Regions from separate parts of the Homo sapiens genome. Here region 1 is linked to region 2. The links are contacts of gene promoters, found by promoter capture Hi-C in blood cells and fetal thymus (Javierre and others, 2016). All regions are on one chromosome and are shown on one strand. The core of a region is centred on a gene start or on the middle of the fragment in contact, and the rest is flanking DNA. Distances in the headings are between cores, read along the strand shown. Region 1 overlaps NCAPD2 (non-SMC condensin I complex subunit D2). Region 2 holds the start of SCNN1A (sodium channel epithelial 1 subunit alpha).

Region 1 (4,527 bases), core at 425-2,924, 120 kb after region 2:
CATGTTGGCCAGGATGGTCTCGATCTCCTGACCTTGGATCTGCCCACCTCGGCCTCCCAAAGTGCTGGGATTACAGGTGTGAGCCACTGCGCCTGGCCTGTTTAACAATAATATTAATAAAATAGAGCAATTGTAACTATGCCAGCATCACTACCCTTGCACTTTGGGGCCATTATTAAGTAAAATAAAGGTTCCTTGAACAGAAGCCCTGCAACAGTTGATCTGATAACCAAGGTGGCTACTAATGGGTGAGTAGGGTTGCATATACAGTGTGGATATGTTGGACAAAGGGATGGTTCACATCCCAGGCAGGAGGCGGCAGGGCAGCACCAGATTTTATGCTACTCAGAATGACACACAACCTACAATTTATGAATTGTGTATCTCTGGAATATTTCTTTCTTTCTTTCTTTTTATTTTTTTAAGATAAGGGTCTTGCTTTGTTGACCAGGCTGGAGTGCAGTGGCTCAATCTCAGCCCACTGCAACCTTCACCTCCTGGGCTCAAGCAATTCTCCTGCCTCAGTTTCCCAAGCAGCTGGGACTACAGGTAAGTGCCACCACGCCTGGCTAATTCTTGGGGGGTTTTTTTGTTGTTCTGGAGACGGAGTTTTGCTCTGTCGCCCAGGTTGGAGTGCAGTGGCAAGGTATCGGCTCACTGCACCCTCCACCTCACAGGTTCAAGCAATTCTCCTGCTTCAGCCTCCCAAGTGGCTGGAATTACAGGTGCCCACCACCACATCCAGCTAATTTTTTTTGTATTTTTTAGTAGAGCTGGGGTTTCACCATGTTGGCCAGGCTGGTCTCGAACTCCTGACCTCAGGTGATCTGCCCAACTTGGCCTCCCAAAGTTCTGGGATTATAGGCGTGAGCTACTGTGCCCAGCCTATTTCTGGAATATTTCATTTAATATTTTCAGACTTGAGATTGACCACGGGTAACTGAAACCCCAGAAAGTGAGAACACAGATTGGTGAGGACCACTGTGTGTAAGATGGTTGTAAGAGCCAAAGAGAAAAATAAAGAAGACAGTGTGGCCAGGCGCAGTGGCTCACACCTGTAATCCTAGCACTTTGGGAAGCCAAGGTGGTTGGATTGCTCAAGCTCAGGGGTTTGAGACCAGCCTGGCCAACATGGTGAAACCCCATCTCTACCAAAATTACAAAAAAGTTAGCCAGGCGTGGTGGTGCACACCTGTAGTTCCAGCTACTTGGGAGGCTGGGGTGGGAGAATTGCTTGAGCCCAGGAGGCAGGGGCTGCAGTGAGCCATGATCATGCCACTGCACTGCAACCTGGCCACAGAGCTAGACCCTGTTTCAAAAAAGAAAAAAAAAGAAGTGTACTGGGAATGGTGGCTTGTCCCTGTAATCCCAACCACTTGGGAGGCAGAAGCAGGATTGTTAAGGCCAGGAGTTCAAGACCAGCTTGGGCAACATAGTCTCTAAAATTAATTATACAAAGCTTAAAAATAAATAATATAAAGAAGAAGATAGTAGGACCTGTCATTTCATGTTGGATCATCAGAGAAGGCTTGCTGTTACGTCACGTTTGAGCAGAGACCTTAAGAAAGTAAGGAAATAAACTATGCAGATTGTTAGGGAAGAGCATTCCAAGCAAACAGAAAAGCCTATGCAAAGGCCTTGAGGTGGGCAAATGCCAATAGAGTTGGAGTGCATTAAGCTAGGAAAAAGAGATTAGGTAGGAAGTGGTACAGATTATTCTAGAATCTTGCTCCTCAAAATGTGGTCCTCAGATCAGCAGTGTTAATATCAGGATCTCATGATCTGGGAGCTTATTAGAAATGCAGGATGTCAAGGCCCAGGATGTCAAAGCTGCTGAATCAGGAAATCTGTATTTTAAGAAGATTCCCCCAGGCAATTTGGATGCAATTATAAGCTTGAGAAGCACTGATCTCTAGAGCCTCGTAGATCATGGCAAAAACTTGAACTTCAGTGTGAATGAACTTGAAAGCCATTGGGTTTTGAGCATGGGAGTGACATGGTCTGACATTTTAAAAGATTCACTGGCGACTGTGTTGAGCAGAGACTATAAGAGGCAAGGAGAGAAGCAGGGATACTAGTTAAGTGGCTAATACAGTAATACCAAGTAGATTGGACTGGAGGGATAGCAGGGGAAGTGGTGATAAAACGACTCAGGATATATTTTCAAAGTAGAGCTTTTACAGGAATGCTGATGGATTGGATTGGATTATAGGGTTAGTAAAGGAATCTGAGATGAGAATGATTACAAGGCTTTTTTTTTTTTTTTTTGACAGTCTTGCTCTGTTGGCTCTGTCACCCAGGTTGGCGTGCAGTGGCGTGATCTTGGCTCGCTGCAACCTCTGCCTCCCAGGTTCAAGCAATTCTCATGCCTCAGCCACCTGAGTATCTAGGATTACAGGTGTGCACCACCACGCCTGGCTAATTTTTTTTTTTTTTTTTTTTTTTTTTTTTTTTAGGCAGAGTCTCGCTCTCTCGCCCAGGCTGGAGTGCAGTGGCACCATCTCGGTTCACTGCAAGCTCCGCCTCCCAGGGTCACGACACCTGGCTAATTTTTGTATTTTTAGTAGAGATGCGGTTTTGCCGTGTTGTCCAGTCTGGTCTTGAACTTCTGGCCTCAAGTGATCTGCCTGCCTCGGCCTCCCAAAATGTTGGGATTACAGGCGTGGGCCACCACACCCGGCCTTACAAGGCTTTTTGACTTGAGCAACTAGAAGAATGAAGTTGCCATTTACTGAGATGGGGTAGCATATGGGAGGGAGAGGTTTAGATTGTTGGTTATGTGAGTGCAGAGTTCAAGGGAGAGGTTGTCAGCTAAAGATACACATTTAGGATTTAATACTCAGCGTGTAGACAGCACTTAAAGCCATGAGATTGCAGTGAGTGTAGATGGAGAAGAGCAGCAGTTTGAAGACCAAGACCTGAGACAGTCCAGCATTTAGAGGCTAGGAGGATGAAGAAGAACCAGTAGAAGAAATTAAGAAGCAGTCATTGGGGCAGAAAGCGAATGAAGGAGCTAAATGGACGCTAAATAAAGAGAGTGTTTCAAAAACAAAAGAGAGGTCAACTGCAGATTAACTACTGGATTTATTGATGTCATAGTCACTGGTAACCTTGACAAAGCTGTTTCAGGAGATGGTGGGGGCAAAAGCCTGCTAGGAATAGGTTTTTAAGAAAATGGAATGACAGAGATTAGAGATGATGAATTTACATAATGTATTTCTTTTAAGATGGGCAGCATTATGTGTGTCTATATTGAGTAGGAATGATCAGAGAGGGAAAAGCTGATGCTGCAGAAGGAAGAGGGAACAGTTGTTGGAGCAGTGCCTTTAGTAGGTAAGAGAGTACGTGATCTGGTACACGGGGAGGAGATGGCTTTATCAGAACATGGACAGTTTATCCACAGTAGCAAAAAAAAAAGGCAGAGTGTATGTATGGGCATAGATGCAACTAGTGCAGGTAAATATAGAGCTTGGGGCAGTTGAAAGTTCTCTTCTGTCTGCTTCTGTTTCCTCAATAGGAAGGGAAAGCCTTTAACTGAGAGTGAGTTTGGGAAGAAGGTCATGGTGTTATGAGCAGAGGATAGGTGTGAAATAATTGCCTAGAAGAAAACGAATAGACTTGGGAGTACGAATGCCCACTTCAGGTTAGTAGTCATGAGTTTAACGTAAGACTAGTCAGCTTGTTTCTGTGTTTTTCTCAGGCCATTTTTATTTGTGTGGTCACATGAATGGAGTAACCAGAAAGTTGGTTTAACCTAGATTTGCCAGGGGAGTATGTGTTGTTGTTGTTGTTAATTAGTGGAATAAGTTACAAGTATCACAGTATCTAACAATAGGGGAATAGTAAATTAAGATAGATATAAGGCCGAGTGTGGTGGCACTGCCTGTAGTCCCAGCTACTCAGAAGGCTGGGGCAGGAGGATCGCTTGAACCCAGAAGTTTGAGGCTGCAGTAAGCTATGATCCTGCACTGCACTTCGGCCTGCGCAACACAACAAACCCTGTCTCAAAAAAAATTGTTTACAAAGGTGTTTTTGTTGTTGTTGTTGTTGTTGCTTTTTTTTTGAGACGGAGTCTCACTCTGTCACCCAGGCTGGAATACAGTGGCACTATCTCGGCTCACTGCAACCTCCTCAGTTCAAGCGATTCTCCTGCCTCAGCCTCCTGAGCAGCTGGGATTACAGGCGCATGCCACCACACCTGGCTTTTTTTTTTTTTTTTTTTTTGTATTTTTATTAGAGACGGGGTTTCACCATGTTGGTCAGGCTGGTCTCGAACTCCTGACCTGATGATCCACCTGCCTCAGCCTACAAAGTGTTGGGATTACAGGCGTGAGCCACCACGTCTGGCCTACAAAGGTTTCTAATACACTTACTGTAATGCTAAATTTTAAAAAGCATGACAGAGAAGTGAATATGTGATACAAGCTCAACAATGGAAATACGATGTATAGAAAATGGACTGAGAAAAATATGCTGTTATAACTGAATGCCTGAGACTGGATATTTATAATGAAAGAAATTTATTGG
Region 2 (4,595 bases), core at 1,194-3,693:
AATGACCTGGCTTTTTTTTTTCTCTCTCTCTCCAGGACAGGACGTCCCACCCTTTCTTAGTCCGTAACGCACCTTTGGACATGATGGAATATACGAAGGGGCCTCCACCCACAGCATGACCAATCCCCAGCATCCAAAATCGCACACATACCAATATGTGCACACACACACTCACACCCACACCCATAAAGATTTTGCACTCCTTGAAGGTACACTAACTCACCATTTTTATCATACTTATCCCAGTGTGCCACAGTTACTGGCTTATATGCCTGTCTCTGCTATCTTATTTTATCTGTCTCCACAACACAGCAAACTACCTGGCCTTCAATAAAGGGCTTATGAATTATTCATGAATCCATTTTGCCAGGTGCCTAGCCCTGTGTCTGGCTTGAAGCAGGTGTTCCCAAGGTGTGGCATGGCTGAGTGAATACAAATAAAAGGTATACAAAAGCACTCAGCCCTGCCCTCCTCTCTTCTCCACGCTTACCACCTGCTCCGGTTTCCAGACCCAACATTGGCAAAGAGCACCGATGAAACCCAAAAGTTCAGGACACACCCAAGCACGTAAAGGTCAGGCACCTGGGCAGGTCAACAGTGCAGCATTTTAGCCTGGGTCTTTTGGGGGAAGAGCTTCACAAGGAGCTGCTCTCTAGCCTGACCCATTCTCCTTGTTCTGTAAGGCCCCTGCCCCCAGCCTTTGGGCTCACTTGCAGCCCTAACCTCCACGATCCCCCTCTTTGCTTTCTCCATAATAAATTCCCCTTCTAAACAAAGACTGACAGCACCACCTCCACAGCACCTGCACGGTCTCGCCTCCCCTCACCTAGCCTCACCCCTCCATCAGACTCTCCTGCTGAGGTGGACGAGGTCTTATACTTTGCTGGCATCTTGCTCCAGAAAAGGGATGCAGCTGAGCACACCCCTGCCCTTTTGCAAGCACTCCCTCCCACTTGCAGGAGGGAGAAGGGAATGGGAGGGAAGGAGAAGAGAGGGCAGGGGAGGGCAATGCTGCTCCAACAACCACACTCTGGGTGAGCCTGGGGTGCTAGGATGGCTCCACTGGGCAGGGACGCCAGTCCAGTAAGCTGGAGGCTCCTCATTTTGCCAGCAGTGAGCTCTACCTGGGACAGGGGTGTCAGTTCCCACCCTCAGGTCTGAGGCTCTGCCTGCCCAGTGAGCACCTCAGCACCCTGGACCACCCTTCCAGGCGCAGGCACCAGGGAAGGGGCAGAGGGACTAACCGACCTGTAGGGATTGAGGGTGCAGATGGTCACTGCGGGGAAGACGAGCTTGTCCGAGTTGAGGTTGATGTTGAGGCTGACGGGGTAGCTGAAGTACTCTCCGAAAAGCAGGCCGAATTGCCAGTACATCATGCCAAAGGTGCAGAGCCACAGCACTGCCCAGAAGGCCGTCTTCATGCGGTTGTGCTGGGAGCACACCAGGCGGATGGCGCCGTGGATGGTGGTGTTGTTGCAGAAGAACTCGAAGAGCTCTCGGTAGGAGCGGTGGAACTCGATCAGGGCCTCCTCCTCCGCCGTGGGCTGCTGGGGCGCCGCAGGTTCGGGGCCCAGCCCCTGCTCCTCACGCTTGTTCCCCTTCATGAGCCCTGGAGTGGACTGTGGAGGGCTAGAGTCCTGCTCCTCCAGCTTGTTCCCCTCCATGAGACCTGGTATGGGCTGCAGAGGTCTAGGGTCCTGCTCCTCCAGCTTGTTCCCCTTCATGAGCCCCGGAGTGGATTGGGGAGAGCAAGGGTCAGGGTCAAGGCTGAGCTCTGGGCCCTGAGTGCCCTCTCCCATCACCCCTGGAACCCGAGTGAGGCTGCCCCTGGCCATGCCCATGTCCCACCCTGCGCCCACATTCTCCCACTCCTCCCTCCCTCCTCCACCTTTCCTGGAGCCAGCAGACCTGCGGGAGTTGGGGCCAAAAGTGCCGGAGCTGGGCTTCCCTAGAACGGCCTCTCCTCTGCTTCCCTGATAGGGCCACCTTTCGAGTTTTGTCCTAGCACCTCCCTTTCTGTCTCTGCCCCCTTCCTTTGGTCTTCTTCCTCCAGGATCTGTGTCTCAGCTCCTGCCTCTCACTCCCTCTCTATCTGCCTTCTGTTTCTCTTTGGGTCTCTCCTGCTCTCCTCTTTCTGGCCTGCCTCCTCTCTCTAATCCTGCCTCTCTTCCTCTCCCCCCCTTGCCTTGCCCCCTCTCACTCTAGGCCCTCAGCTCCAGCCTCTGGCCCTGACCTCGAGCTGTGTCCTGATTCTGTCTCTGCCCCAGGACTGCAGGGCTCCAGGAGGTCTGGGCTGCCTCCAGCTTCCCACTCCCAGGTTGCGGCTGGACTGGGACTGGTTCCTTTCCAGTTGAATCTGGCAGCCAAACCTCTCCTCCCCCTCACCTGACAGGTGCAGCGGCCTGGCTGGGGAGCCCGCCCGCTGGCCGGCCAGGGATGGAAGCGACAGGAATCTCATTAGCATCTCAATTAAAGGTGAGCAGGGCGGGGGGAGGGGCTGAGGAGGAGTCAGAGCCGGGAGTTTTCCGAAGGAAGGAGGGCTCCCGAGGGCAGGTGAACTGGGAGTACTGGACCTGAGAAGGCGGACTCTGGGCAGGGGCTTTAGACGCAGACAGGCAAGGAGGCTGGGGGACAGGATGGCAGGTGAGGGGCAAAGATCTGAACAAGTAGAAGGATCCTGAGCCCACAGCTAGGAGGGCAACACAAGGAGAAGGGGCCAGCCAGGCTGAGAGGGCCTGGGTGGGGAACCGGGAGGACAGGAGGGCAGAAAGAGGGAGACAATAGAGAGGGACAGCGAAGGACAGAGAGATAGGGATGGAGGAGGGGCACTGAGTGAGTAGAGGCAGGTGGGGGGCAGTGGTGGGGGCAAATAGAAGGAGCCAGCACCAAAGGGAGTCTGTCTCCAGGAAGGAGAGCAAGGGGGGAGTCCCAAGTGTGCTTCCAGGAGCTAGAGGCTCAGCAAGTGGGCAGCCCTCCAAGGGCACCCACAGGTCAGCCTCACCCTCAGGCCCTGCAGAGAAGAGAGAAGAGGTCTCTGCAGGTCTCCTCCCCGCTCACTAAGTGGGAGCAGCGCACTCAGGTGGGATGCGTCTGCCTCCTCCTGGTCCCTCCTCTTTCCTGCTGATTCCTCGCCACCCCCTCCAACCTTGTCCAGACCCGGGAGGGGCCCAGGTGAAGCTGGGGGCTAGGCGGGGCCCTAGGACATTCTGTTCTTTTTTACACTGTTGGCTGCCAGGCCAGGAATGTGTAATCGCCCCTGCTGTGGTCACAGAGTTGCAGGAATGTGGGCAACCAGAGGCAGCGCGAGGGCCACGCAGGACACTGTGGACACAGACCCGGAGCCCAGGAAGAGGCAGGGAAAGCAGGCACTGAAGGTGCAGGGAGGATGTGGCCAGCGCTGGAAAGGAAGAGGGTGGGCATGGCACACGCCTAGACAGGCCCTGGGAGGAGGAGAAATTCGTTGATGGGCTATATTTTCTCCAAAATCTCTTTCCAAACTTAATGCAGCAAAAGGATAAGGAGTGGAGTGCCAAGTGGTGAGCAAGGAGAGAGAGGAGGGTCAGAGAATCAGACCCAAAAAGGGCTGGAGGAGACTCGGGAGAGCCACCCACACAACCCAGGCCCTGCACGCGGCAGGGAAGGCTGCCGCTTCCTCACGGGCCCCACAGGAGGCAGCCCAGAGTGCAGGAATGTGGTCACTGGCTTGTCCTGCCTCCCTCCACAAGCCAGCAGACAAAGGCCCAGCCTGAGCATTGATACACACCGGGGGAGGAGATAGGCCTGCAATACAATAAGATAAGGTTTCTATTTGTACACTTTAAAAGATTGTCTTTAAAACGGACTTCTAACAAAAGTGCAGATCTCAGATTTCTCAGAGATAAGACATAAGAGCCAAGGGCTAGGGGAGCCTAGGGGCTCACTGCAGGAGACTCAGGAAGCCTTCCCAGAGAAGGTGTCATCTCTGCTGAATCTTGACAAGCAAGGAGTTTAGCAGGCAAAGAAGAGAAAAGGCAGTACTCCAGGCTCAGGGTCCAACCTGGTCTGTGGCTTCCTCTCTTGCGGCAGTCTCTTGCGACTTCTTAAAGTGAAAGCCGGTGTCAACCAGGATTCCAAACCAGGTTCCCTTGCTTACCTTGATACTGCTCATGATACCTCCCCTTGGAAGGGACAGCTGGATTTTTCTTCATTGTCCTAATGAAGAAACTGACCCTTCCCAAGGATAAATCAGTTTTCTGAGGTTAGAAAACAAAATAGGAGCAGAGCTATAAACAGAATTCAGAATTCTCCTCCTCCTCTGGGGCTATCTACTTAGCGCTTTTGCCATTTACTTCCTGAGACAGACTCATGGGGGATCGGGGCTCAGGTGCACCTGGATGTGAAAGCCGGGAAGGCCTCCCTCACTCCCACACAGAGCCCGTGGATTCGTCTGCTCTCTGGGTGCTGGGTTATCTCCTTGGCTCTGTGAAAAGGTCTCTGCACTGTCCCCACTGCCCCACATATCCCAGAGACCCCTAGAAACTCCAGTCTCCCTTGAGCCAGGTCCTTACATTGGGCATGGTCCTCCCTGCAATAAGGTGCTCAGCACCCTGGCTGTT

The links. The method cuts DNA at HindIII sites, captures the fragments that hold promoters and counts their contacts. A CHiCAGO score of 5 or more calls a contact.
Region 1: a fragment that was not itself captured here is called in contact with the fragment with the promoter of SCNN1A in region 2 in 1 of 17 cell types (neutrophils); the score reaches 5.3 in neutrophils.

Annotation. Positions count from the first base shown.
Region 1 is chr12:6,498,806-6,503,332 of GRCh38, forward strand. All of the region lies in intron 2 of NCAPD2 (non-SMC condensin I complex subunit D2), which reads left to right. Among named protein-coding and RNA genes, the nearest start is that of NCAPD2, 7.0 kb to the left of the region's middle. The HindIII fragment of the contact is 435 bases long and covers 1,458-1,892 here.
Region 2 is chr12:6,373,120-6,377,714 of GRCh38, forward strand. SCNN1A (sodium channel epithelial 1 subunit alpha) reads right to left here and starts at 2,444. Exons shown (of 13, transcript NM_001038.6): 1 at 2,386-2,444; 2 at 1,249-1,718. The coding sequence starts at 1,664. LOC105369626 (a long non-coding RNA gene) reads left to right here. Exons shown (of 4, transcript XR_931591.3): 4 at 36-456. It also overlaps a transcript of LTBR not described here. RefSeq lists enhancers at 851-1,455, 3,272-3,876. The HindIII fragment of the contact is 18,398 bases long and covers 1-4,595 here.